Regions from separate parts of the Homo sapiens genome. Here all the other regions are linked to region 4. Evidence: promoter capture Hi-C in 16 types of primary human blood cells and fetal thymus (Javierre and others, 2016). All regions are on one chromosome and are shown on one strand. Each heading gives the region's core, a stretch centred on a gene start or on the middle of the fragment in contact. The rest is flanking DNA. Distances are from core to core; before and after follow the strand shown. Region 1 has its middle 9.8 kb from the start of LINC02128. Region 2 overlaps TENT4B (terminal nucleotidyltransferase 4B). Region 3 overlaps TENT4B (terminal nucleotidyltransferase 4B). Region 4 holds the start of NKD1 (NKD inhibitor of Wnt signaling pathway 1). Region 5 overlaps TENT4B (terminal nucleotidyltransferase 4B). Region 6 overlaps ADCY7 (adenylate cyclase 7). Region 7 has its middle 9.6 kb from the start of ADCY7.

Region 1 (3,149 bases), core at 437-2,936, 280 kb before region 4:
TTTCCTGAAAAACTCCCCTGATTAATCATGTGCTCCTTGAATTCCTTTCTCAAGCTCTGCTTTTAGGGAACCCAAGCTAATATATTTGGCACCAGGAGTGATCCTAGGAAATAGATGAGAAGGATAGGATTCTGAAGTCCCTAGATGGCTAGAAATCATAGCCCCATCACCGGTGCTTAGTGTACAGTGGTAAATGGCAGGCAGTGATTGTTGCTAAGATTCTACCTGTAATACACCCAGGGCATGGGATACAGGTGGAAAAGGTGCACTGCCCTGTGCAAGAGCTTTGATGTTTGAGAGGTATGGGAAAAAGAGTTCTTATAAAGACTGTAGAATTGGGTGCCCACCAGTGAATGCCAATCATGCCTTAAGAAGAGGAAAAGACAGACTCAGGGCCATCAATCACAATGTGAAGCAAAACATGAGGGTCTGAGAGCCCCATTGCCAGCATTATAGAAACTCTCATCTCCCACAGCTGGGGAGGCAGACAGCTGGCTCCCAGGCCCTGGCCTTAAGGATATGAGGAAAGGACTTAAGGATAAGAGTTGCAACTTTAAGGAAATTTAAATTCTAATTCTAAGCCTAGGCAAGTTTTCTACACCAAAGTCAGACCTCTGATGGAGAAGCTGCAGGAATCTGGAACTTGGGGTAAGTGCATTTGAGTACATGTACTTGAGAACTTTGGGTCCTCTGGGTCTGCAGAAGCGGCCTGTCCACCCTGTTAGGAGACTATCCAAGAAGCCCCAAATGAGGATTTTTATAAAGCAGCACTGGCCTCCTCCGTATCTGCTGTCACCTCCTCTCCCCGCCACCAGTCTAATCTGTAGGGCCAAGTCTCAGCATGAGTCAACTGTGTGAGGCCTGCTTAGGAATGGGAAAGTTTCTAAGTAAAAGACTCTGCAGGTACTAGTGGACATGCCCTGGCAGGACTGGGAGGGCATGCCCAGGAGTGGATCCTGAGGATGCTGGGTCAAGGTGGACAGAATTTATCACTGAATAAAGGAACATTTGTTGACAAGGGAGCCCTCTCCTTTGCCATGGAATTTAACACCCCGGCGAGGCTTCCAGGGATGGGTCTAATACATAGCTGGGATGGCTCTTAGAAGCTTGGAAAAAGCTCACATTGGCCCTCATTAAATGAAGCTGAGATGCCAGAGCTCTCACTGCAGATGATGGACGAAAGGATCAACGAAGTGGTGGCTGAATTGCAGTTCCTATGCCAAAGGAGGTCTGTTTACTACAGCAGACTAACACAACCTCAGCTATGTGGTTTGCAATTTATTTCTGATCTGCCAAACGTGTTCTTTCCAATACTGTTGTTTGTTTCCTGGGACTGCCATAACAAATTACCACAAACTTAATGACTTAAAACAACAGAAATTTATTCTCTCACAGTTCTAGAGGCCAGTGGTCTGAAGTCAAGGGGTCAGTAGGCTGCCTCTGGAGGCTCTAGGGAAGAGTCCTTCCTCTCCTGGTGGCTGCCGGCTGTCTTTGGCATTTCTTGGCTTGTAGACACATCACTCCAATCTCTGTCCTCTCCTGTATGTATTCCTCTCTCTTCTCTTATAAGGAAATTTATCATTGGATTTAGGGCCTACCCTAATCCAAGATGATCGTATCTTGAGATCCTTTATTTAATTATATCTGCCAAGACCTTTATTCCAAATAAGTCCACAGTTCTAGGTTCCAGGTGGGCATATCTTTTCTTTGGTGGGGTGGGGGCAGGTGCATCATTTAACCCACTACACGTGCCCATCACAAATGAGGATCAGAAGCTGTTTGCATCTACATCCAATGGATAATAGCATATATTGATAATCCTGCCCTGGAATATGGTAATTCTGATTTCTGCCATAATGTAGTCCATAATGTGACCTAGGCAATCTGGACACTTCACAAAGAAACTGAAATTACTTCCCTGTATCAATTTCAGCAGTGAGCTGAAATTACTTCCCTGTATGATACGTTAATTGGATCAGATGAGCAAGAAGAGACAAGTCATCGGGATGCCTGGGTAAGATACATGCTGTCCAAAGGATGGGAAGTAAGAAATCCCAGGTATGTATCAGCAAAGTTTCTAGGGGCCAGTGGTCTGCAGCAGTGGAGCATCCCTGTATTAGGTGATTCTTGTATTGCTGTAAAGAAATAGCTGAACCTGAGTAATTTACAAAGAAAAGAGGTATGATTGGCTCATGGTTCTGCAGGCTTTACAGGAAGCATGGTGCTAACATCTGCTCAGCTTCTGCGGAGGCCTCAGGAAGCTTACAATCATGGCAGAAGCAGAAGGGGAAGCAAGCATGTCACATGGCCAGAGCAGGGAGGAAGAGAGAGAGAGAGAGAGAGAAGGTGCCACAGACTTTTAAACAATCATATCTCGAGAGAATTCACTCACTGTCATGAGGACAGCACCAAGGGGATAGTGCTAAACCACTCATGAGAAATACGCCCCCACAATCCAGTCACTTCCCACCAGGCCCCACCTCCAACATTAGAGATTACAATTTGACATGAGATTTGGGTGGGCACATGCATGCAAATAATATCAATCCCCTCCAAAATAAAGTAAAGTTATTGTACTGTGCAATTCCTACCACTAAGGAAAAATCCCCAGTGCTTGGTAGACCAGTCCGAATTGAAGGACGCATACTCCAACACTGGGGGATACTGCTCTTGCCCATTCAATGACTTGTAAGGAAACATGCTAGTCTTAAGTGAGGCTCAAAGCAAGAGAGGGCTCTGCAGCAGGTCCAGGCTATGCTACAAGTTCTGTAGCTTGGACCATGTGACTCCATAGACCCCATGGTACTGGCATTAGAAAAGTAGTAAGATCTCGAATTAATAACTTCAGCCTCCACCTTAGGGAACTAGAAAAATGTGGCTCACGCCTGTAGTCCCAACACTTTGGGAGGCTGAGATGGGTGGATCACGAGGTCAGGAGTTTGAGACCAGCCTGGCCAATGTGGTGAAACCCGTCTCTACTAAAAATACAAAAATTAGCCAGGCATGGTGACACGCACGTGTAATCCCAGCTACTCAGGAGGCTGGGGCAGGAAAATTGCTTGAACCCAGGAAGTGGAGGTTGCAGTGAGCTGATATCACACCACTGTGCTCCAGCCTGGGTGACAGAGCAAAACTCTGTCAAAAAAAAA
Region 2 (3,285 bases), core at 276-2,775, 320 kb after region 4:
TAAACATAAGAGCTTTCACCCTGAAAGAAAGCATTTTCAGAAATGTCACTTACATTCTATTATATTAAATATTCCCAACTGAGTTTCAAACTCAACAGGTAATGATAACAGAATTATACATCTCATTGCACTCAAAGCTGACTACAACCAAAATTTACAGTATGATTGAAACAAGCCAATGTTTAAAAAAGTTTTAATTAACGATAACAATTCCATGAAAGAAGAGGATAAAGAATGGGATGACAAGAAGTATTTGGTCTTAATAAGGCAATACAAAATAGATCCATTATCAAAGACCATTTAATTTGTAAAGATCAACAATACCAAAAGCATAGAGTGGAATATAAGAAAATAGTTTTTTATAAGTATGATTTAATTAAAGCTGTTTACAGTTATTCTCCCACAGTAGTTAAGCATGAATTTTAAAAAGAATAAGAGATGAGAAACAGGCACACGCAGCACACAGGGTTAGAGAAGCCAGCATGCAAAGTCTGTGGAACTCGAAGTTTCACTGCAACAGGAATGAGACCAGACATGGGTGACCTTTTTTTTTTTTTTTTTCCTATTAGGAAGAAATGGGGGGAAAAAAAAAAGACTGCAAAGGAAGCAAACACAAAGTCATGTAATTGCCCATTGCCCAAGACGACAGCACTATAGAAAACAGTTGCAAGTTAATTCTCGGAGATGACCAGAGATTTTTCAGTGTTTACACAAAAGTACATAGTACATTTTTTTTTTTTTACAAAATAAAATAAACATCATTTGCCACCATAAACCTTTTCTTTAGAGAGGAAAAATTTTTGCAGCAGGACACAAGGGTTCTATTAAGTCATTTCAATGCTGAGAAAAACAAATTGAGTAATAGAACTAATCACTTCCCTATATATGGATGTTAAGATGACAATTTAGATTATTTTTCAAACTAATCCTGAGAAAAAATCTGTTTACAATTTAAACAGTAATGTTATGTAAAAAGTATTATTAACAAATCCACTATTACAAATATCAATCTCCTATATGGTCTTCTATATATACACACAATAAAATGGTAAATATATGCAAAAATATTTAAAAAAAAAACATGCACAGATCACTTTCCCCTTTGGAATCTGGACTTCCTATCAGATACCTTTGTTTTCCTTCCCCACCTCATCCTCTGATACTGTTTTTTGTTTCTATCACCCTACCAACACTGAATACTATTCCCTATAACTCTGCATAAAGCCAATGAGAAATATATTTATTTTACATTCAAGCTTTAAATCTTAAAATGACCCTGTTGTAGCATATGACTTATCAAATAAGCAGCCTTTTTTTTCCCTCTTTTTTGCTTGCTTTTTTTTTTGTTTTGTTTTGTTTTTTTTGCAGTTGTCAGTCTTCATGATCCATTCTGTGGCGAGCTGGGAAAAAACGCAGTTGCTAAGTCAACGTCTGAACAGTGTGAGGCTCCTGAATATCTCCCAGGAGTCCCTGCGCAACTGTCCTGAGCATGAGATCATTGCACAGAGAAGACAGTCCACCGCGCAGCGCTGACTATCTACAGAGGTCTGAGAGGGGCGCGTCCCTCTTGTGTTTCCTCTTTTTGCCATGGTAATACTGATTATTGGATTTGCCTTGATGTTGTTTGTTTGTCATCAAGGAACCATGGCTTGTTTGAGTTGTACCTTGGAAGCCTTTGCTGGAAGAACGAAAGAGCCTTGCTGATCCATGCTGCAGAAACAGAAAACGACCACAAAGACATCAGTATTGCAGAAAAGCAGAGTGTTCTCAAACACCTGGATTTGGGGAAGCTTTCAAAACTAGGAATATGCTGGCTAGATTGTTACCTTACTGATCACTGACTTATCTAGTGGGCAGAAAAAGCTGTTACAGGGGTTCTTTTTAGCTCTAAAACCCTTACTTTATTTTAATGGAAATAATGAAAAGCATAGACCACTCGCCCGCCTTCTTAACAGTGTGTGGGATGCAAAGGTTTTCTTAAGAAACTTACCAACCCAAACACCACATCATAAGTGACAGAGCGGGAAGAGGCTCTTGGGCATGACAGGCACACTGGTAGGTTTGGGTCAGCACAGGTGGCTACTCCCTTCCTGCTACTCATGGCCTGTGGCTTTCTCGTGACCTCAGTCCCTTCTGTCAACCCTGTCACTTGAACTGGTATTTTGTGATAAGTCTGTGTCTGGCATACATGGCTAAGGCCGCGTAGGTAAAGTGAACTCAGTGAGTCAAATCAGACACAAGGTTACAGCCAAGAGGCCTATTCCCAGGTTCCCAGCTATAGTGAGGAGTGACCCAGCCTTAGGCCAGAGCCCCATATCAATGGCTTCCTCCCCTCACTCTGAGTCATTACTCAGTTAATGACAATTCTAGGCAACAAAAAAACTTAAACTAGAGTATCTCTGTGGCCTTTTAAGTCCAAGCTAATGTTAATCAACTGACCACGCCTGACAGCCAGCTGATCATTTCAACACCAGCAACAAGGTATTGAACATTAAAATATTAGAAAAGGATACATTATTCCCAGATATGCACACTGCCATGAGGCCTCACAAAACCTTCATGCCAGCTTATTTCATGTACAACTGAGACACTTTTTATATGGTAGTTTGGCTGGAACATCTTATAAGGACCAGTCAATAGATTCCTGAAGAGATTTATGTTACAATGGTGTCTCACAAGGATCCTTAGGACATCCTGTTCCTAGAAGCACTGTCATGTGTTGGAACCTCTTAGAATAAAATAAGTTTGTTCTTCAATCTAGCGTTTTCTTCAAACCCATGCTGCATATTATTTACATGTGGGAAATTCTAAATATTTTGTATCAAATACTAACAATTAAAAACCCACGTTCCACACACCTGAGATTTGTTGGTGCTGTTGGATGTGTTAGTGGTTTGGGTGCTTTGCATTTTCCCAACTGCCTGAGAGGACTCCAAGGATACATCTTGCGACCCTACTCGGTTCCCAGTGGACGGACGGCAAAGCAGCTGTTTCGGGGTTTTGCATGGTGTTGCATCGGAATCCTAACACAAGTCACGTGAGTTATAATGTGACATATTAGTAATTTAGATACTCAATATTCAGAAAGAAAAACAATTTTGGTTAAAGTACTCTCTGGACTAAATTTAAACATTTGGGAGTTAAAAGAAGCACACAAAAAATTAACTGTTTGTTTAAATTTTCCTCCAAACATTTAAAATGACTGATTTTATCAGAGAGCTTCTGTTCATTGTTAAATCCACTGCCCACATCTGACCTTGAAGGAGCTCACAGAGGTCTAAGTTT
Region 3 (3,415 bases), core at 787-3,286, 360 kb after region 4:
CAAAAAATAAAAAAATTAAAAATTAAAAAAAGAAAAATAAATGAAAATAAAAATTAAAAAATTGGCAGAGTGCAGTGGCCCACGCCTACAATCCTAGCACTTTGGGAGGCCAAGGCAGGTGCCACTTGAGGTCAGGCAAGATGGTGCCACTGTTCTCCAGCCTGGGCAACAGAGTGAGATTCCGTCTCAAAAAAAAAAGTGCAAAGGACCTTATGGGGAGAGACTGGAGCCCTTGAACTTTGCTTGTGGGAAGGTAAAATGATTTAGCTATGGTGGAAAAGTCTGGCCATCCCTCAAAGAGTTAAACATAGAATTATCATATGATCCAGCAATTCCACTCCTAGGTATGGAACCAAAAGAACTGAAATCAGAGATTCAAACAAATATTTGGTTATCAATGTTCACGGCAGCATTATTCACAACAGGTAAAGGGGGAAACAATTCAAATGTCCATCAAGGTTGAATGAAAAAACAAAATGTGGTATATATAAACAATGTAATATTAACTATCTCTAAAAACATTAAAGTGATACAAGCTACCACATGGACAAACCTTGGAATCAGCCTGCTAGATGATGAAAGCCAGGAACATAATTAAAACAAAGCATCACAAGAAGAAAAAAAAGCCAGAAACAAAGCGACAAATATGTAGGATTCCACTTAGATGGAAGAGGCAAATTGATAGAGATAGAAAGTAGAATGGTGATTGCCAGCATCTAGTTGCAGGGAAGGAGTGATAAACTATTGTTTAATGAGTACAGAGTTTCTGTTTAGGATGATGAAAAGTTCTGGCAATGGACAATGGTGATGGTTATACAACACTGTGAATGTACTTAATGCCACTGACTTGTAAACTTAAAAATGGCTAAAATGGTAAATTTTATCTTATGTATATTTTACCACAATAAGAAAAACGTTAAGCTAACACTGGATATCTATAAAAATGTTTTGTGCAGAACTTAATTTGAGAAACACCACTACAGAATTAAAAGTAAAAATTACACCATTTATGTAATGTTTAAAAATACAGACAATAGTGTACTAATAGATGTAAACATAGATGAGAGCATAAAAGTACGGATGGAAAGGGCACACATTTGCCTCTGAGGACAGGTCACCTCTGAGGAAGTGGGGGTAAGGGGGAGTGAGAGGTATGCCAAGGGTGTGCAGGTGAATCTGAGTAGTTGCATTCCTTAAGAAAAGAGAGAGGGAGGAAGGGAAGGAAGGAGGGAATAAAGGAAATCAAATGTGTCAAATCCCAGTGGAAGGTAACCAGAGCTTCGATACGTTACTCTGCATCCTCTTCACGTGTTAAGTAATTATAAAAACAAACTCTGAAATCACTAAAAATCAAAGGTTTACACAATAAGGAAGCATGTAAATTAAAACTTCCCTCAACCATTTTACACAGTGAATGAACAGATGACCCATTGACACAGGGAAATGTTCCAGAACTTACCATAAAGACCAGCTTGAACTTTCCTTCCCTCCTCCCTCCTCACAGATCTAAGATGCCATGAACAGTCAACTGGAGTTGCCAATCACCATTCACTAGCCAGACTTCTCTCTCACTTCATGACCATAATTGGTCCTGTACTTTGTACTTGCCTCCAAAACTGCAAGTTAAGTAAGCATTAATCCCCATTAGAAGTAAGGTGAAAGCTGCAGCATTCCTCTCGATATACAAGTAAATTCCTACTAGGCTAGTAATACACAGTAAGATTGGTTGATAATTTACTTACTGCAAGTAACTGAAAATTGTCATTACTTAGATGCAGAAATTCCCACAGAAGCCAGAAACTTGGAAGCAAACTACAACTTGGAGCTTGCTTCTTTGCTAGTCATACCAAGACTACCCAAAGAGTATCAGGGTGGAAATAACCCTAGCGCCTCTCTCTCTTTCTCACTCGCCTGCACAATCAGGTCTTTTATTTTCTTTTTAGGCAAAGCACTATTTCCATCTAAGTACAGGGAATGTGAGAACACAACAGGCTCAATTAACACTCAGAACCAAAAGTGGGGATACTCCTAGATATTGACCCAAGAGAAATGAAAAATGTATGCTCACACAAAAATTGCAGCATGATACTCAGGAGCCTGAGGCACAAGAATCACTAGAACCAGGGGGCGGAGGAGGCTGCAGTAAGCCTACTACACTCCAGCCTGCGTAACAGAGTGAGACTGTGCCCTCCGCTCCCCCCACAAACAAAACAAAACAAAATAAAAAAAAACCCTCAAGCATGATGGCAGCATTATTCTCTTTTTTTTTTCTTTTTGAGATGGAGTCTCGCTCTGTCGCCCAGGCTGGAGTGCAGTGGCGCCATCTCGGCTCACTGCCAGCTCCGCCTCCCGGGTTTACGCCATTCTCCTGCCTCAGCCTCCTGCGTAGCTGGGACTATAGGCGCCCGCCACCACGCCCGGCTAATTTTTTGTTTTTTAGTAGAGACGGGGTTTCACCGTGTTAGCCAGGATGGTCTCGATCTCCTGACCCTCGTATCCACCCGCCTCAGCCTCCCAAAGTGCTGGGATTACAGGCGTGAGCCACCGCGCCCGGCCGGCAGCATTACTCTTAATAGTCAATGGAAAACAACCTAAATGTCCATCAACTGATGAATAGATAAACAAAACATGGTATAACCATACAATGGAATATTACCCAGCCACATAAAGGATAAAGTAATGATACATGCTATAACACAGATGGACCTGGAAGACATTATTCTAAGTGAAAAAAGGCAGACATCAAAAGCCATTAATTTTGGCCTTCCAAAATTAATGTATTATACTACTGTATTGTGCATTCCATTAATATGAAATGTCCAAAACAGTCAAATCCGTGGAGACAAAAAGTATTCTGATGGTTGCCTAGTGCTGGGAGGTTAGGGGAGAAATGAGGAGGAACGACTAATGAATACAAAGTTTCTTTTTGGGTTGATGAAAATGTTCTACAACTTATTCTGGTGATGGTTGCACAACTCTAGGAATACATTAAAACATAAAAGATATAATTCACCCACTTTAAATGGGTTAGCCACCACGCCTGGCTAATTTTGTATTTTTAGTAGAGACGGGGTTTCACCATGTTGGCCAGGCTGGTCTCAAACTCCTGACCTCAGGTGATCTGCCCACCTCGGCCTCCCAAAGTGCTGGGATTACAGGCATGAGCTACCGCGCCTGGCCAAATCTGCCCAATTCTTTTGCAGATGCTTCTCCACTGGAAGACACAAATGCCCATTTCTGAAACGGCTAAATCTCTCAACTTATCGAGTTCCTGTGTATGTGATCTTCTGGCCAAGGACACACAATTTTCTAATTCAATGGTGCCAAGTACACTATTACTTCACTTTCAGATAAGAAGGTGATTAATAAAACAGGAATTCAAAGTACTGTAAAAATAAGAATTCCAAAAAAAAAA
Region 4 (3,535 bases), core at 720-3,219:
AAAAAAAAAATTAAATGTCACATCAAAAAGTTGATTCATCCTTTGATCCTAGGCTTGCGCGAGTTCCACGCAGACTGCCTGAAAGCCCCGTGCAGAGTTCCGGAGCTCACAGGACATCTGTGAACGCCAAGTCCCAGGCCAGGAGCTGGGGCTGGACTCACTCATTCCCATCACACTTAGTGCTCCTCCAGGAACTCCAGCCTCAGAGACACACGGGGTGAAGGCTCAGGGCTCTGCCCAGGCTACAGTGGAATGAGGCCCTCTATCTCATATGCCAAGTAAGGGGTCTTCCAGGTCTCAGTCCCCCTAGATCTGCTACCCAGAGGGCCGCCTGCTCTACTGGGGTTCCTGTACAGGTGGTACTGATGAATGCCACAGACAATCAGAACATATTCAGATCCTGGGGCCAGCACAGCTCTGCCTTCCACCCAGACACCCCTAATACCCCCTTCTCTCTAGCCCCTACTCCACCTCCACCTTTGAATGCTGGTGGCAGAAACAAGGTAGAAGTCAGAGCAGGCCCCCAAATCCCGCCGGTACAGACACGATTCCCCATCAACTGGACCTTCACCACCTCCCCACCTAGGACCTTTCCCCCAGGCAGCCCTCTGCCTCCAGCTGGGCACTTCGAGGTTCTCCAAGGCATGCGGGCAGAGGGTCGCGTTGGTGGGGCAGGGGGCAGCTGAGAAGAGATTTTCAGACCCAGAAGCTGTGCAGGAAAGTGCTCAAAGTTGGGGTGCATGGGTTTGGGGACCCATCTCTGAGGCTGAAAGGAGGCCAGGAGGTGGGGCAGGGGTGGGGAATCATACCCGGGTGCTTCGGCCTATGGTGCCCGCCAACCGCAGCTGTCGGGGTCCCGAGACACCGCCCGGGCAGCGCTGTCTCCCGATCCACTCCTCGATGCCCTTCCGAGCCCAGGCAGCGCTCACGGCGAAGCTGTCACCTGGGACGGGGACGACATGAAGCCCCTGAGTCTGGCTCCAGGTGCCAAAAGTTACCCCCGCGGAGGGAAGAAGGAGGCGCGGTGGGAGGCGAAGGACCACGGCACGGGGGCCAGGAGGGGGTTCGCGGGCTGGGGCAGGAGCCAAGAGAGGGACGCGGGTAAGTAAAGGGGGGTTCAGCGAAGCCCTAGGAGCGAGGAGCCAGAAGGGGGCAAGAGGGGTGAGCAGTACCCCAGGAGGACGGGTTTAGGATCAGACCAGGGAGCACTGGCAGCCAGGACTGCGGAGGAGAGGGCTGGGGGTCAGGAGAGGGGCCGCAGTAGGTGCAGGAGCCAGGATATCGGAAGAAGGGCCGGGGGGCAGGAAGAGGGGGCAGGGTCTTGCGGGGAGGCGCTTGGGGGTCTGAAGAGAGGGTGCCGTGAGAGCCGAGGGCAGGGACGCGGGAGGGGGAGGGGTTGAGGGTCAGCGGTGGGAGCGCAGGACCGCGGGGAGCGGGTAGGAGGGACAGAGGAGGGGGCGCGAAGGCTGCTCAGGGAGCGGGCTTGGGGGGCCGGTGGCCGGAACTGGGGCTTCGGGGTGGCCCTGGTCATAAGACCTGGCGGGCTGGGCCGTTCTGCCGCGGCCGCGGTGTCCCCCGCGTCCATCCCCGAGGTCTGCGCCCCGCGCGCCCCTACCTTCCGGGCTCTCCCTGCGCTTGCACACGGCGGCTGCAGGCACATCGCGAGGCGGCGGCGGCGGCGGCAGCCGCGGCGGCGGGAGAAGGAAAGAAAGGAAGGGAGAGAGTTAGCGACCGCGGCGGCGACGGCGGCGGGGCCCGGGGCGAGCGCGCGGGCGGGGGCACTGACCCGGCTTGGAGTGAAGTTTCCCCATGCTGGGGCTGCGGCGGCCGGGAGCGTCCCTAAGCCATGCGCCCGGCCCGCGGGCCTGGCGCCTCCCTTGGCTCTCCTCCTCCCGAAGCAGCCCCCGAGCCGAGCGGAGCCCGAGGCGGCGCCGGGACGCGCTCCTGCCGCCGTCGCCGCGGCCCGACTGACGCCCGGGAGCGCCGAGCCCCCAGCCCGCCGCCGCGGCCCGCGCCTCCCCGCGCGCCCATTGGCCGGTGCGGCGCATCAAAGGCAAGGCTGGTTGCGGCGGGGGCGGGGCCGGAGGCGGGGCAGGGCGGGGACGAGGGCGGGGCGCTGACGGGAGGGGCGGGACACAGTCCGCGCTCCCTGCCGCGGTCTGGGGCCGGGGGCCGAGCTCCAGGGCTGGCGACCCGGCGGGGCGGCTTGTCCAGGAGGCGTATTGGGACAGAACAGCCCGGCCATCGCTAACTGTACTGTCACTTCCCTCCGCTCCACGTTCTCTCTAAACGGGCAGGGCGGGACTCGGCGGCTCCAATTTACAGGTGGGGAAACTGAGGTCGGGAGCGGAGACCTTAGCTGCTCAGGTGCAAGCTTCGGCAGCGCTGCCTTTTCCCAGTCTTCCCACGACCTACCTTCTGCAGAAAGTGTTCATTACCCGCCCCGTGACCCGCCCCCCACCACCGCACTCCTCTAGTTTCTTATTTGGGGAGTCCAGGAGGAGCCCCCAGCGCACCCCGGGCCAGTGTGAGCCCAGCCCTCTCCAGGCAGCGACAAATGTCCAAAGCGCCCCGTTATCAGCCAGTCTCTGGGATCTCCTCGTCCGGGGGCCCGTGGGTGCCCGCCCGGGTCGGGGCGCGCTGCCAAACTGCGCGGCCCGGAAGGGGGTAACCGCTGAGTCTTTGATCTTCCTTGGTTTCCGCTCCCCGCTGCAGTTCGCCAGACCCAAGGGTTTGTTTGTTTTGTCTGGGGAGGTCTCTGCGGGGAGGTCGCGCGGGGGGAGGGGGATGGTGGCGGTCGACATCAAGGGATTCCACCCCACCTTTGTGGCTCTCAGAACGCCTGCCCCCTTCTGGGGACACTGTGGGTCCGTGTTACGCTCGTCCTGGCACCAGGCAGCTCTGGCGTGGGAAAAGAAAACCCGCAGCTCAGAGTGAGACCAGCCCCGACCTTTGGAGTGAATTACCTGTGCTCAGTTTTGTGATCTGTATAATGGAGGCTCCATTCTGCCCTTTTTGCCGACTCTCTAGAGCAGCACTGCCCAATAGAAATATAATGTGGGCCACATTTGTAATTTTAAATTTTCTTGTCGCCACATCTTTTAGAAGTAAAAAGAAATAGATGAAATATTAATAATATATTTCGCTTAACTCAATACAGTCAGCCCTCCTTATTCACAGGTTCCACATCTGTGGCATCAACCATCTGTGGACTGAAAATATGCAAAAAGAATAATACAGCAAAAATAAAGAATAAAAAACTTTTTAATATAGTATAACAACTATTTACATAACATTTACATTGTATTAGGAATTACAAGGAATCTAGAGATGATTTAAAGTATTCAGAAGGATGTGTGTAGGTTATATGCAAATACTACAGGACATTTTATATAGCGGACTTGACATCTGGGGATTTGGGTATCCTCTAGGATCCTGGAACCAGTCCCCAAAGACACCAAGGGAACACCATATATCCAAAATAGTATAATTTCAAGATATAATGAGATATTTTACATTCTTTGTATTGCGCTAA
Region 5 (3,281 bases), core at 754-3,253, 340 kb after region 4:
TACTGAGGAAATAAACTTCAAGTACAGATTTTAAAATAATTCTAACAGGCTCTATCCTCAGGACTGAGTAATTTTACTGGCACAGTGCCTTGCATATTCAGGCACTTAAAATACCCTGACGAGCTGGAAGTCCGTTTGTAGAGTGTGCACTGTAAGTCTGGCTCTCATTTGAGTGGCAGAGTGGACCACCTGAGGAATTTTGTAGGCTTGCTTTCACATGGTAATATAATTTTATGCCTCTGAAAGCATCCAAGTACACAGAGAAAACTTCAGTTTCTCCCATGTTTGGATCAAAATTTAATATGATTTATGAGTAGGTATTGCTGGATGACACATGCCCATTGTTACAGTTTCTCATATGAAATTATAAAATACATCATACTGAACTAAGAATGATGAAAAAAAGTATAGAATACAACTCTTCCGTGATCTGAACCTGTATGTACCCAAAATACAGTGCCCTCTCTAGGATATCAATGTTTTTATGTTAAAAGGAAAAGTGGCTCGGGCACAGTGGCTCACGCCTGTAACCCTAGCATTTTGTGAGGCTGAGGCGGGTGGATCGCTTGAGTCCAGGAGTTCGAGACCAGCCTGGATGACATAGTGAAACCCCATCTCTACAAAAATACAAAAAAATTAGCCAGGCGTGATGGTGCACGCCTGTAATCCCAGCTACTCAAGAGGCTAAGGTGGGAGAATCGCTTGAGCCCGGAAGACAAAACTTGCAGTGGGCTGAGATTGTGCCTCTGTTCTCCAGCCTGGGCAACAGAGCAAGACTCCGTCTCAAAAAAATAAAAAAATTTTTAAAAAAGGAAAAGTGAACAAGATCCCTGTTCACAAAAGAAAAGTCATATAAAAGCAGTATGATAAAATGAGCACCACTATACAACGGGAAAGGATGCCAAAAAAAAAAAAAGAGAGAGCAAGAGAAACAAAATTAATTTGCTGGGGTAAAATTTACATTAAAATCTCAAAATTAATAACAGAACATTTAATATGACAAGGAGGTGTCCAAAAAACAGATTCCATATTTAAAAAATAAAACTCACAGGTAATTTAGGTTAAAAAAAAAAAACAAACTTCTGTTCTGAGGAAAGATCTGCTACAGAAAAGGAATCCAGCCTATCAAAATTATGTGAATTTTATAATGCTTGTCATGGGGTGGGAGGTTCAAGATCTTTGGCTGGAAAAGGAAGAACCATTTCGCATCCTTCAGCTGGACCACCCTGGGCACACTGTGAGTTGCTTAGTAGCTTCTGCATTCTCAAAACCAAAGGCAAGGTGGAAAGCTCCCTTGTGCCTTCTAGGCCAAGGGAGGCAGATGACCCACGGCCAGCCCCTCTGCTCAGCACCGTCCCCTGCGGCTCATCCATGTTTCTGTTCAGGGATGACACTGCTTCCCAAGAGATACCTGCCCAGACACAGCATGTCTGAGCCCACCTCCACATCAAGGTCCAGCTTTCCCAGTTCCATAACTGAAGTCAGACCTGTTTTATTACCAAATTCATCCCTTACATGAAGGAACTGACAAAGTTCTATTCGATAACTGTCAATAACAGGACATCCCTCCACCAAAACAAACTGTCAATAACAGGACATGCCCCCACCAAAAAAAAAAAAAAAAAAAAAATACATACATATATATTTATCTCTTAAGGTTCATGATATCCAATTTTGAAACAATATATTGAAAAGGCATTCATATGCATGTGGGGAAGTATAAATTACTACAATCTCTCCTGAGGTCATTCTACTAACAAACGATAATGTTTACACAAATAATTTTTAAAATTTCCCTTCTTTCCATCCTCCAGAAATATTTTCATGAGGGAACAAGGATATCTGTATAAGGATGCTCACCACAGGATTAATTAGGATACTAAAAAATTTAGAAATGATATCAATGTCCATCAACAGGATCCAATTAAATAACAACAGAAGCACCCATAAAGCACTTTCCCTTTATAGCCAATAACCTCTTAAAAAAATAAAGCTATATAAGCTGATAAAGATGTCAAATATGTTAAATTGGAAAGAAAAAGCATAAAAAATGTGTTCAGCAGAATCTCTTTTGTGTGCGTTAGACATGTGCAGGGGCAGAAGCAGTGGCTCACACCTGTAATCCCAGCACTTTGGGAGGCTGAGGCGGGTAGATCACTTGATGTCAGGAGTTTCAGACCAGCCTGGCCAACATGGCGAAACCCCATCTCTACTAAAAATACAAAAATTAGCTGGGTGTGGTGGCAGGCGCCTGTAATTCCAGCTACTCGGGAGGCTGAGGCATGAGAATCACTTGAACCCAGGAGGCAGAGATCACAGCAAGCTGAGATCATGCCACTGCACTCCAGCCTGGATAACAGAGCAAGACTCTGTCTCAAAAAAAAAAAAAAAAAAAAAAAAAAAAAAAAAAAAAAAAAAAAAAAAAAGACATGTAAACACATACACACAGAGGCAGACACACAAAATGTTCCTATTTGCATTGCAAGTTTTCTGGAAGGAGAACTGTTAACAGATATTACCTTAGGGACAGGGACTTTTGCCCAGTGGAGGGCACAGGCAGGAGAGTTAGGAAGACTTTAACTTATTTTTGTATCTTTCTGTACTATTATAATTTTTTTTAAAAAATCAGCATGTATTTGTCCACTTTTGAAACAGAGATTATTGTCTGCTTGATGAGATTATAGTCCAGGAGATTTGTTGTCACCTTTATATTTTCCCATGTGAAAAATATGGTTGTGAGTATGCATGTTCCACCCACTAACCAGCCCTCTGCCCGCCCCACACAGAACAGGGTCTATATACGATACTGTTAACAGTGATCACATCCGAAGAGGGACTGGGGGGGTCATTTTAAGAAAAATGCATACATGTTAATTACCACTGTATATTTTTAAAACAAGAACTTCATCATAAAAAAATTCATTAAAGAAAACACAAAGCAGAAACACTTAAATTACTCTAATAATCTAGCCTTGCAGACACACTTCGAAAGAGGGTGATATGGGCCGGCTGTGGAAGGAGCTCAGTGGTCAGCCTGTGGGCAATACTGACAGCTGGGGACACAGAAGACCTCCAAACCCAGGAATGCAGTGACAGCACACACCAGTACATTTTGCAAAGTTTCTGCATGCCCAGTGCAGTGTGTGTGGTGAGTTTCTGCTAGTGTCTGGCCCATCCTTTCTGGGATTATTTATATACTCAAACGCGTTGCAAGGCAAATTTCTGGAAGAATACACAAAAACTGCTAGCAGGACTTTCCTCTGGGGTGGAATAGAGGTCTG
Region 6 (3,129 bases), core at 380-2,879, 260 kb after region 4:
GGCTCAAGCAATCCTCCTGCCTCAGCCTCCCAAAGTGCTGGGATAACAGGCATGAGCCACCATGCCCAGCCACTATTTTAAATTAAATTTAAATTAATTTAAAATAAAATTAGAAATTCAGTCCCTCAGTCACACTAGCCACATTTCAAATACTCAACAGCCAGCCAGGCATGGTGGCTCATGCCTGTAATCCCAGCACTTTGAGAGGTCGAGGCAGGCAGATCACCTGAGGTCAGGAGTTCGAGACCAGCCTGGCCCACGTGGTAAAACCCCCCTCCACTAAAAATACAAAAATTAGCCGGACATGGTGACGTGTGCCTGTAATCCCAGCTACTCGGGAAGCTGAGGCAGGAGAATGGCTTGAACCTGGGAGGCAAATTTTGCAGTAAGCTGAGATCGTGCCATTGCATCCAGCCTGGGCAACAGAGTGAGACTCCATCTCAAAAAAAAAAAAAAATCAAATACCCAATGGCTACATGCAGCTGCTGTACTGGACAGCACAGATAAACAGAGAATGTCTATCATCACAGAAGCTTCTACAGGCCAGCTCTGCTCTGCATGTTTCACTGTTTTGCTTTCACACAAAGGTCTCTGATCCATTTCGATTCACTCTGGGTATGGTGTGAGGTAGGGATCAAGGTTCACTTCTTTTTTCCATATGGATATTGAATTATCCCAGCAGTGTTCAGTGAACCGGCCATCCTCTCTCTGAATTTCAGTGGAGCCACCTCTGTCATAAGTCAGGTGATCACACACAGATGGTGTCTGTTTCCAGGCTCTGCTCTGTCCCCATGGTCCTGGTGCAATCACCACATTCACTTCATTTTCCAGTGAGTCTCATGCCTCCAGGCACAGAGGGTTCCAAGCTGTGATCCTAGGAGCCCTGAGATTTGGGGACATGCATCAGGCCCCCAATGGGAAGGGAAGGTGGGGGGGCATAGGCTCAGGCCCCCATGCCTGCTTCAGCCAGGGTAGCCCCCTGCATCTGTGTTACAGTAAGCTCCACATAAAACTGCATTTTCTTTCTCTCTTTTTTTTTTTTTTTTTGAGATGGGGTCTCACTCTGTCACCCAGGCTGGAGTGAAGTGGTGTGATCATAGCCCGCTGCAGCCTCAACCTCCCAGGGCTCAGGCAATCCTCCCACCTCAGACTCCTGCGTAGCTGGGACCTCAGCTATGCAGGAGGCTAAGGTGGGAGAATTACCTGAGCCTGGGGAGACTTAGGCTGCAGTAGGCCATGTATTTTTTGTAGAGATGGGGTTTTGCCATGTTGCCCAGGCTAGTCTTGAACTCCTAAGCTCAAGCAATCTACCCTCCTCAGCCTCCGAAGTGTTAAGCTTTCAGGCACTGTACCCAGCAAAAATCTTGTTTATTTTTTTAAATAGCCCACTGATACAAATTTCAGATGTCTGCAAGCCGTGCTTCACAGAAAAGGGAGCTGAGTCTCAGAGAGGGACACAGTGGCCCCTTTGTGACAACACTGTGAGCTGACCCCACACTTGCCATGCTCAGCCCATATGGGTTCCTTCTTTCCCCAGCACCATTCATTCCTTAGCATATTCATTGATTCCAAAAAGGCTTGTGAATCACACCTACGCCTGCCAGCCCTTATATCTCCTGTGTGCTAGTCTGGGCTCTCTCTCCCCAGGGATCCCCATCAGTCTCCAAAGGTAGGAAAATTACCAAAATTGTGCAATCCCTCACACAGCAATGGGGACTTGGGGACAGCTGCCATATTCCCAGCAGGAACCTTGCATGAAGGGGGCAACCCTGGACCAAGAGTCCACGCCCCCAGTGTCCTCCAGGCCTGCCTCAGATTGGAACCAGGACAGGGCCAGAGGCAGAGGGCAGGGAGGCTGTGAGACACGGGACAGCTCAGAGCAGTCACAGGGCACAAATGGCCAGCCGCCAGCAGAAGCTTCAAAGGACAGCTGGTCCAGCGGAGGGAAGATGGCCAGGTGAGCCCCCAGCCCCCAAAGGCAAAAAGCAGGATATCCAGGGTCCCCAAGTCCCCAACCAGCACCTGCTAGTATGAGATCCCTGGGGCCACCTCAATTCCAGGAGCCACCTCAGGCTCTATTTCCTCTGGAAGTTCCTATTCCATCACCACACACCAGGAACAAAATGGTAAAACCACATATTTGGGGAAGGAGGAAGGGGTCATTTGCTGGGGGCCCCATCCCCTTCAGTGCCTGGGCAGGTGTCTACAGGCCTTGGCACCTGTTCAACGAGGGGCAACCCTTCAGGGATGTGGCCAAGAGCTGTCAAAGTGCCCAAAGTGCTCAGACAGGCTACAAATCTGATTTCTACGTGAAATGATGATTTTTAAATGTTGGCAGCTGATTTCAAATTTTTCAATATTTGCAGCCCACTAGTTTACAACCTCTAAATCTAAACTAATCAGTCTGTATTCCACAAGAGGCATTTACTGTGTGCTAACCATATACATCCAACCCTGTGCTGTGGGGGTTGCCAAACAAGATAAGGTCCCTGCCTGAGATACATTCAATTCAGCACCCCCCACCCCAAAATAGCCCTTTGCAGTAATAACAGCAGCAGTTCCTGTCACCCCCGGCACCTGCACACACATTCACTCTCATCTTCACAACCGGCAAAGGCCAAGGTGGCACCACCGTCTCACAGATGCAGAACTGAGCCCAGAGAGGCAGAGTGGTTGCCTAAGATCACACTGCTGGAGCTGGTGGACAGATAGGCTGGGATGCAAACCCAGGTCTGCCAGCTCCCAAACCAGGGCTCCTCAGCCCAGGCTTGCCCACTGACATCCCGGGGGACTGAGCCAGATGCCACAGCACACAAACAGCAAACCCACCTGACCCCTGGCCTGCTGCCAAACACCAGTGCACCAGGACAGCCAGGCTGAGAAGCTCCAAACACCAGAGGGCTGAGGCCACTCCCCACAACTGCTCCATCTCCCAGGCAAAGCCCCCAGACCAGAGCTGAGGCGGCCAGACACGTGCATGAAAGTGCAAGTGTGAGAGTGTGTGGACACACCCGCTCCAGGCACACAAAGCCAGGCTGGGCCACCACGAGGAAAGGGAGGAACCAGCTGAGAGAGTCCCAAGGGCCCGTGGGAACACAGGCCTGGTAAACACGCCTCTCAAGGAACTCA
Region 7 (3,572 bases), core at 1,066-3,565, 290 kb after region 4:
TGTGGTCCCAGCTACTTGGGAGGCTGAGATAGGAGGATTGCTTGAGCCTGGAGGTCAAGGCTGCAGTGAGCTATAATTGAGCCACTGCACTCTAGCCTGGGAGACAGAGAGGGACCATGTTTCAAAAAAAAAAAAAAAATACTACCTTAAAGTCATTGAATATCAATGACTGCCAGTATTACAAAAGGAAATTCACCAGACCACGTGCCTCCCAGAAATTTCCAATAGCATCTCCAATGTGCTGTTGTGTGAAAAAAATCAAAACTGAATTAGATCAAGCCTCTGGATACAACTATGAATTTATAGGATTCAGGGGACAAGGAGCATGCTACACATTATAGGAAGCTCTCCTACAGGTAAAGGGACCCAGCTTCAACAAAAACACCACATGGAAGACAGAGAGAATGAGTACCAGTCCTACAGATGAAAAACTGAAGAAACATATCACAGTCTCATCATGCAGACCTCATTCGGATCCTGATTATTATTATTTTTTAAAGAGACAGGGGCTCTCTCTGTCACCCAGGCTGGAGTGCAGTGGCGCAGTCATAGCTCACTGCAGCCTCCAGCTCCCAACCTCAAGTAATCCTCCTGCCTCAGCCTCTCGAGTAGCTTGGAGGTTACATTACAAGTGCATGCCACCATGCCTGGCTCTGGATCCTGATTTTAAAAAGCTAATATTAACATATAGGCCAGGCACGGTGGCTCACGTCCCTAATCCCAGCACCTTGGGAGGCCGAGGCAAGCGTATCACTTGAGTCCAGAAGTTCGAGACCAGCCTGGGCAACGTGGTGAAATCCTGTCTCTACAAAAAATACAAAAAAATTAGCCTGGTGTGGTGGTGCATGCCTGTGGTCCCAGCTATTAGGGAGGCTGAGGTGGGAGGATCACCTGAGCCTGGGAGGTAGAGGTTGCAGTGGACCGAAATCGCATCACTGCACTCTAGCCTGGGCAACAGACACCCTGTCTCAAAAAAAGAAAAAAAAAGATAAATCTAATATATAAAATATAAATATATATATATATGACATTTACAAAACAATTGGAAGTTTGAACACCGAATGGATAGTTACGATCTTAAAGAATTACTGCTAATGTTTAGCAATATGTGTGGTAAAATGTTTGTTTTTTTAATTTTATTGTAAATTGATCAGTTATAATTGTATATATTTATGGGATACAAGGTGACGTTACATATATACAATGGAGAATGATGAAATGAAGCTAATTAACATATCACCTCAAGTATTTAGCACTGTTTGTGGTGAAAACATTTGAAATTACCCTCTTAGTAATTTTGAAATGTACATTAACTATAGTCACCATGCTGTGCAATAGGTCTCAAAAAACTTATTCCTCCACTGAAACTTTGTATCCTTTGACTGACCTCTCTCTATCTCTCCCCATCCCACCCCTGCCCCCCTTACCTACACACAGCCTCTGGTAACCACCCTTCCACTTGCTGCTTCTGAGTTCAATTGGATTTTTTTGTTGGTGGTGGTCTTTTGCATTTGTTTTGTTTTGTACAGGTGGGGTGCTATGTTGCCCATGCGTTTTGAACTCCTAGCCTCAAGCAATTCTCCCACCTTAGCCTCCCAAAGAGCTGAGATGACAGGCATGAGCCACCGCACACAGCCTAGATTTCTTGGATTCCACACATAAGTGAGATCGTGCAGTATTTGTCCTTCTGTGCCTAGCTTATTTTACTTAGTGTAATGTCCATTAGGTTCACCCATGTTGTTCCTTCTTTCTTAAGGCTAAATAGTATCTCATTGTGTATATATGTCACATTTTCTTCATCCATTAATGGACACTTGTTTCTAGATCTTGGCTATTATGAATAATGCTGCAATGATTATGGGAGTGCAGATATCTCTTTGACATGCTGCTTTCAAATCCTTTGGATATGTACCCACAAGCGGAAGGAAGGGAGGTTCCTACTATTTTCCATAATGGCTGTGCTAATTTGCATTCCCACCAACAGTGCTCAAGGGTTTCCTTTTCTCCACATTATCTCCAACACCTGTCTCTTTTTTTTTGGAGACAGGGTCTTGCCCAAGCTGGAGTGCAGTGATGTGATCATAGCTCACTGCAGCCTCTGAATTCTGGGCTCAAGTGATCCTCCCACCTCAGCCTCCTGACTAGGTAGAACTACAGGTGCACGCTGCCACACCTGCCTTGTTTTTTTATTTTTTGTAGAGATGGGTTCTCCCTATGTTGCCCAGGCTGGTCTCAAACTCCCAGGCTCAAGCAATCCTCCTGCCTTAGCCTCCCAAAGTGCTGGAATTACAGGCGTGAGCCACCACGCCTGGCTTCTCTTGTCTTTTTAATAATAGCCATTCTAACAGGTGTGAGATGATACCTCACTGTGGTTTTAATATGCATTTCCCTAATGATTAGTAATGTTGAACATTTTTTTGTATACCTGTTGGTCATTTGCATGGGTTCTTTTGAAAAATGCCTATTCAGGTTCTTTGCCCATTTTTTAATTGGGTTTGTTGTTGTTGTTGCTGTTATTGAGTTCCTTATCTATTTTGGATATTAACTTCTTTTCAGATGTTTGGCTTGCAAATATTTTCTCCCAGTCTATCGGTTGTCTCTTCTGTTACCTGTTTTCTTTGCCATGCAGAGGCTTTTAAGTTTGACATCATCCTATTTGTCTATTTTTGCTTTTGTTGCATGAGATTTTGGAGTCAAAAATAATAATAATAATTGCCCAGACCAGTATCACATAGCTTTTTCCCTATATTTTCTTCTAGTAGTTCTATAGTTTCAGGTCTTATGTTTAAGTCTTCAGTCCATTTTGAGTTGGTTTTTATATGTAAGGATCTAATTTCATCCTCCTGCCTGTGAAAACCCAGTCTTCTCAACACCATTTATTGAAGAGGCTATCCTTTTCCCATAGTGGGTCCTTGGCATCTTTGTCAAAAAAATCAATGGACTGGGCAGGCACAGTGGCCCATGCCTGTGATCCCAGCATTTTGGGAGGCCGAGGCAGGCAGAGCCCTTGAGCTCAGGAGTTCGAGACCAGCCTGGGCAGCATGTTGAAACCCCATCTCTACAAAAAATACAAAAATTAGCCAAAGGTGGCATGCACCTGTTGTCCCAGTGACTCAGGAGGCTGAAGTAGGGGCATGGCTTGAGCATGGGAGGCAGAGTTTGCAGTGAGCCAAGATCCCACCACTGCACTCCAGGCTAGGTGACAGAGTGAGACACTATCTGAACAACAAACAAACAAACAAATCATTGGGCTGTAAATATATTCATGGGTTCATTTCTGAGCTCTCTATCCTGTTCCATTGGTTGATACGTCTTTTTTTTTTTTTTTTTTTCCAGAAACAGAGTCTTATGGGCCAGGCATGGTAGCTCATGCCTGTAATCCCAGCACTTTAGATGGCCCTATCTCTATAAAAAAGAAATTATAAATATATATATATATTTTAATTGGCTCACTCTGTCACCTAGGCTGGTGTACAGTGGCACAATCATAGCTCACTGCAACCTCAAGCTCCTAGGCTCACGCAATCCTCCCACCTCAGCCTCCCAAGTAGCTGGGACGACAGGCTCCTGCC

What was found. The method cuts DNA at HindIII sites, captures the fragments that hold promoters and counts their contacts. A CHiCAGO score of 5 or more calls a contact.
Region 1: a fragment that was not itself captured here is called in contact with the fragment with the promoter of NKD1 in region 4 in 1 of 17 cell types (non-activated CD4 T cells); the score reaches 5.7 in non-activated CD4 T cells.
Region 2: a contact is called between a fragment that was not itself captured here and the fragment with the promoter of NKD1 in region 4, in 5 of 17 cell types (total CD4 T cells, activated CD4 T cells, non-activated CD4 T cells and 2 more). The highest score is 9.5, in total CD4 T cells.
Region 3: a contact is called between a fragment that was not itself captured here and the fragment with the promoter of NKD1 in region 4, in 4 of 17 cell types (total CD4 T cells, naive B cells, non-activated CD4 T cells and 1 more). The highest score is 6.9, in total CD4 T cells.
Region 5: a contact is called between a fragment that was not itself captured here and the fragment with the promoter of NKD1 in region 4, in 7 of 17 cell types (non-activated CD4 T cells, activated CD4 T cells, naive B cells and 4 more). The highest score is 12.7, in non-activated CD4 T cells.
Region 6: a contact is called between a fragment that was not itself captured here and the fragment with the promoter of NKD1 in region 4, in 6 of 17 cell types (naive CD4 T cells, non-activated CD4 T cells, total CD8 T cells and 3 more). The highest score is 6.6, in naive CD4 T cells.
Region 7: a contact is called between a fragment that was not itself captured here and the fragment with the promoter of NKD1 in region 4, in 2 of 17 cell types (non-activated CD4 T cells and naive CD8 T cells). The highest score is 6.8, in non-activated CD4 T cells.

The regions. Positions count from the first base shown.
Region 1 is chr16:50,828,634-50,831,782 of GRCh38, reverse strand. No RefSeq gene overlaps it. Among named protein-coding and RNA genes, the nearest start is that of LINC02128, 9.8 kb to the left of the region's middle. The HindIII fragment of the contact is 1,155 bases long and covers 1,109-2,263 here.
Region 2 is chr16:50,227,577-50,230,861 of GRCh38, reverse strand. TENT4B (terminal nucleotidyltransferase 4B) reads right to left here. Exons shown (of 12, transcript NM_001365324.3): 11 at 2,859-3,023; 12 at 1-1,710. The coding sequence ends at 1,534. Among named protein-coding and RNA genes, the nearest start is that of ADCY7, 37 kb to the left of the region's middle. The HindIII fragment of the contact is 534 bases long and covers 1,259-1,792 here.
Region 3 is chr16:50,183,528-50,186,942 of GRCh38, reverse strand. The region is part of intron 1 of TENT4B (terminal nucleotidyltransferase 4B); the gene reads right to left. Among named protein-coding and RNA genes, the nearest start is that of TENT4B, 32 kb to the right of the region's middle. RefSeq lists enhancers at 1,842-2,403, 2,404-2,966. The HindIII fragment of the contact is 4,375 bases long and covers 1-3,415 here.
Region 4 is chr16:50,546,830-50,550,364 of GRCh38, reverse strand. NKD1 (NKD inhibitor of Wnt signaling pathway 1) reads right to left here and starts at 1,969. Exons shown (of 10, transcript NM_033119.5): 1 at 1,787-1,969; 2 at 1,616-1,648; 3 at 810-943. The coding sequence starts at 1,811. RefSeq lists silencers at 1,647-1,836, 1,877-2,326. The HindIII fragment of the contact is 5,196 bases long and covers 1-2,376 here.
Region 5 is chr16:50,204,704-50,207,984 of GRCh38, reverse strand. The region is part of intron 1 of TENT4B (terminal nucleotidyltransferase 4B); the gene reads right to left. Among named protein-coding and RNA genes, the nearest start is that of TENT4B, 53 kb to the right of the region's middle. The HindIII fragment of the contact is 6,724 bases long and covers 1-3,281 here.
Region 6 is chr16:50,284,348-50,287,476 of GRCh38, reverse strand. All of the region lies in intron 1 of ADCY7 (adenylate cyclase 7), which reads right to left. Among named protein-coding and RNA genes, the nearest start is that of MIR6771, 6.7 kb to the left of the region's middle. RefSeq lists an enhancer at 3,042-3,129. The HindIII fragment of the contact is 581 bases long and covers 1,339-1,919 here.
Region 7 is chr16:50,255,163-50,258,734 of GRCh38, reverse strand. It overlaps a transcript of ADCY7 not described here. Among named protein-coding and RNA genes, the nearest start is that of ADCY7, 9.6 kb to the left of the region's middle. The HindIII fragment of the contact is 8,884 bases long and covers 1-3,572 here.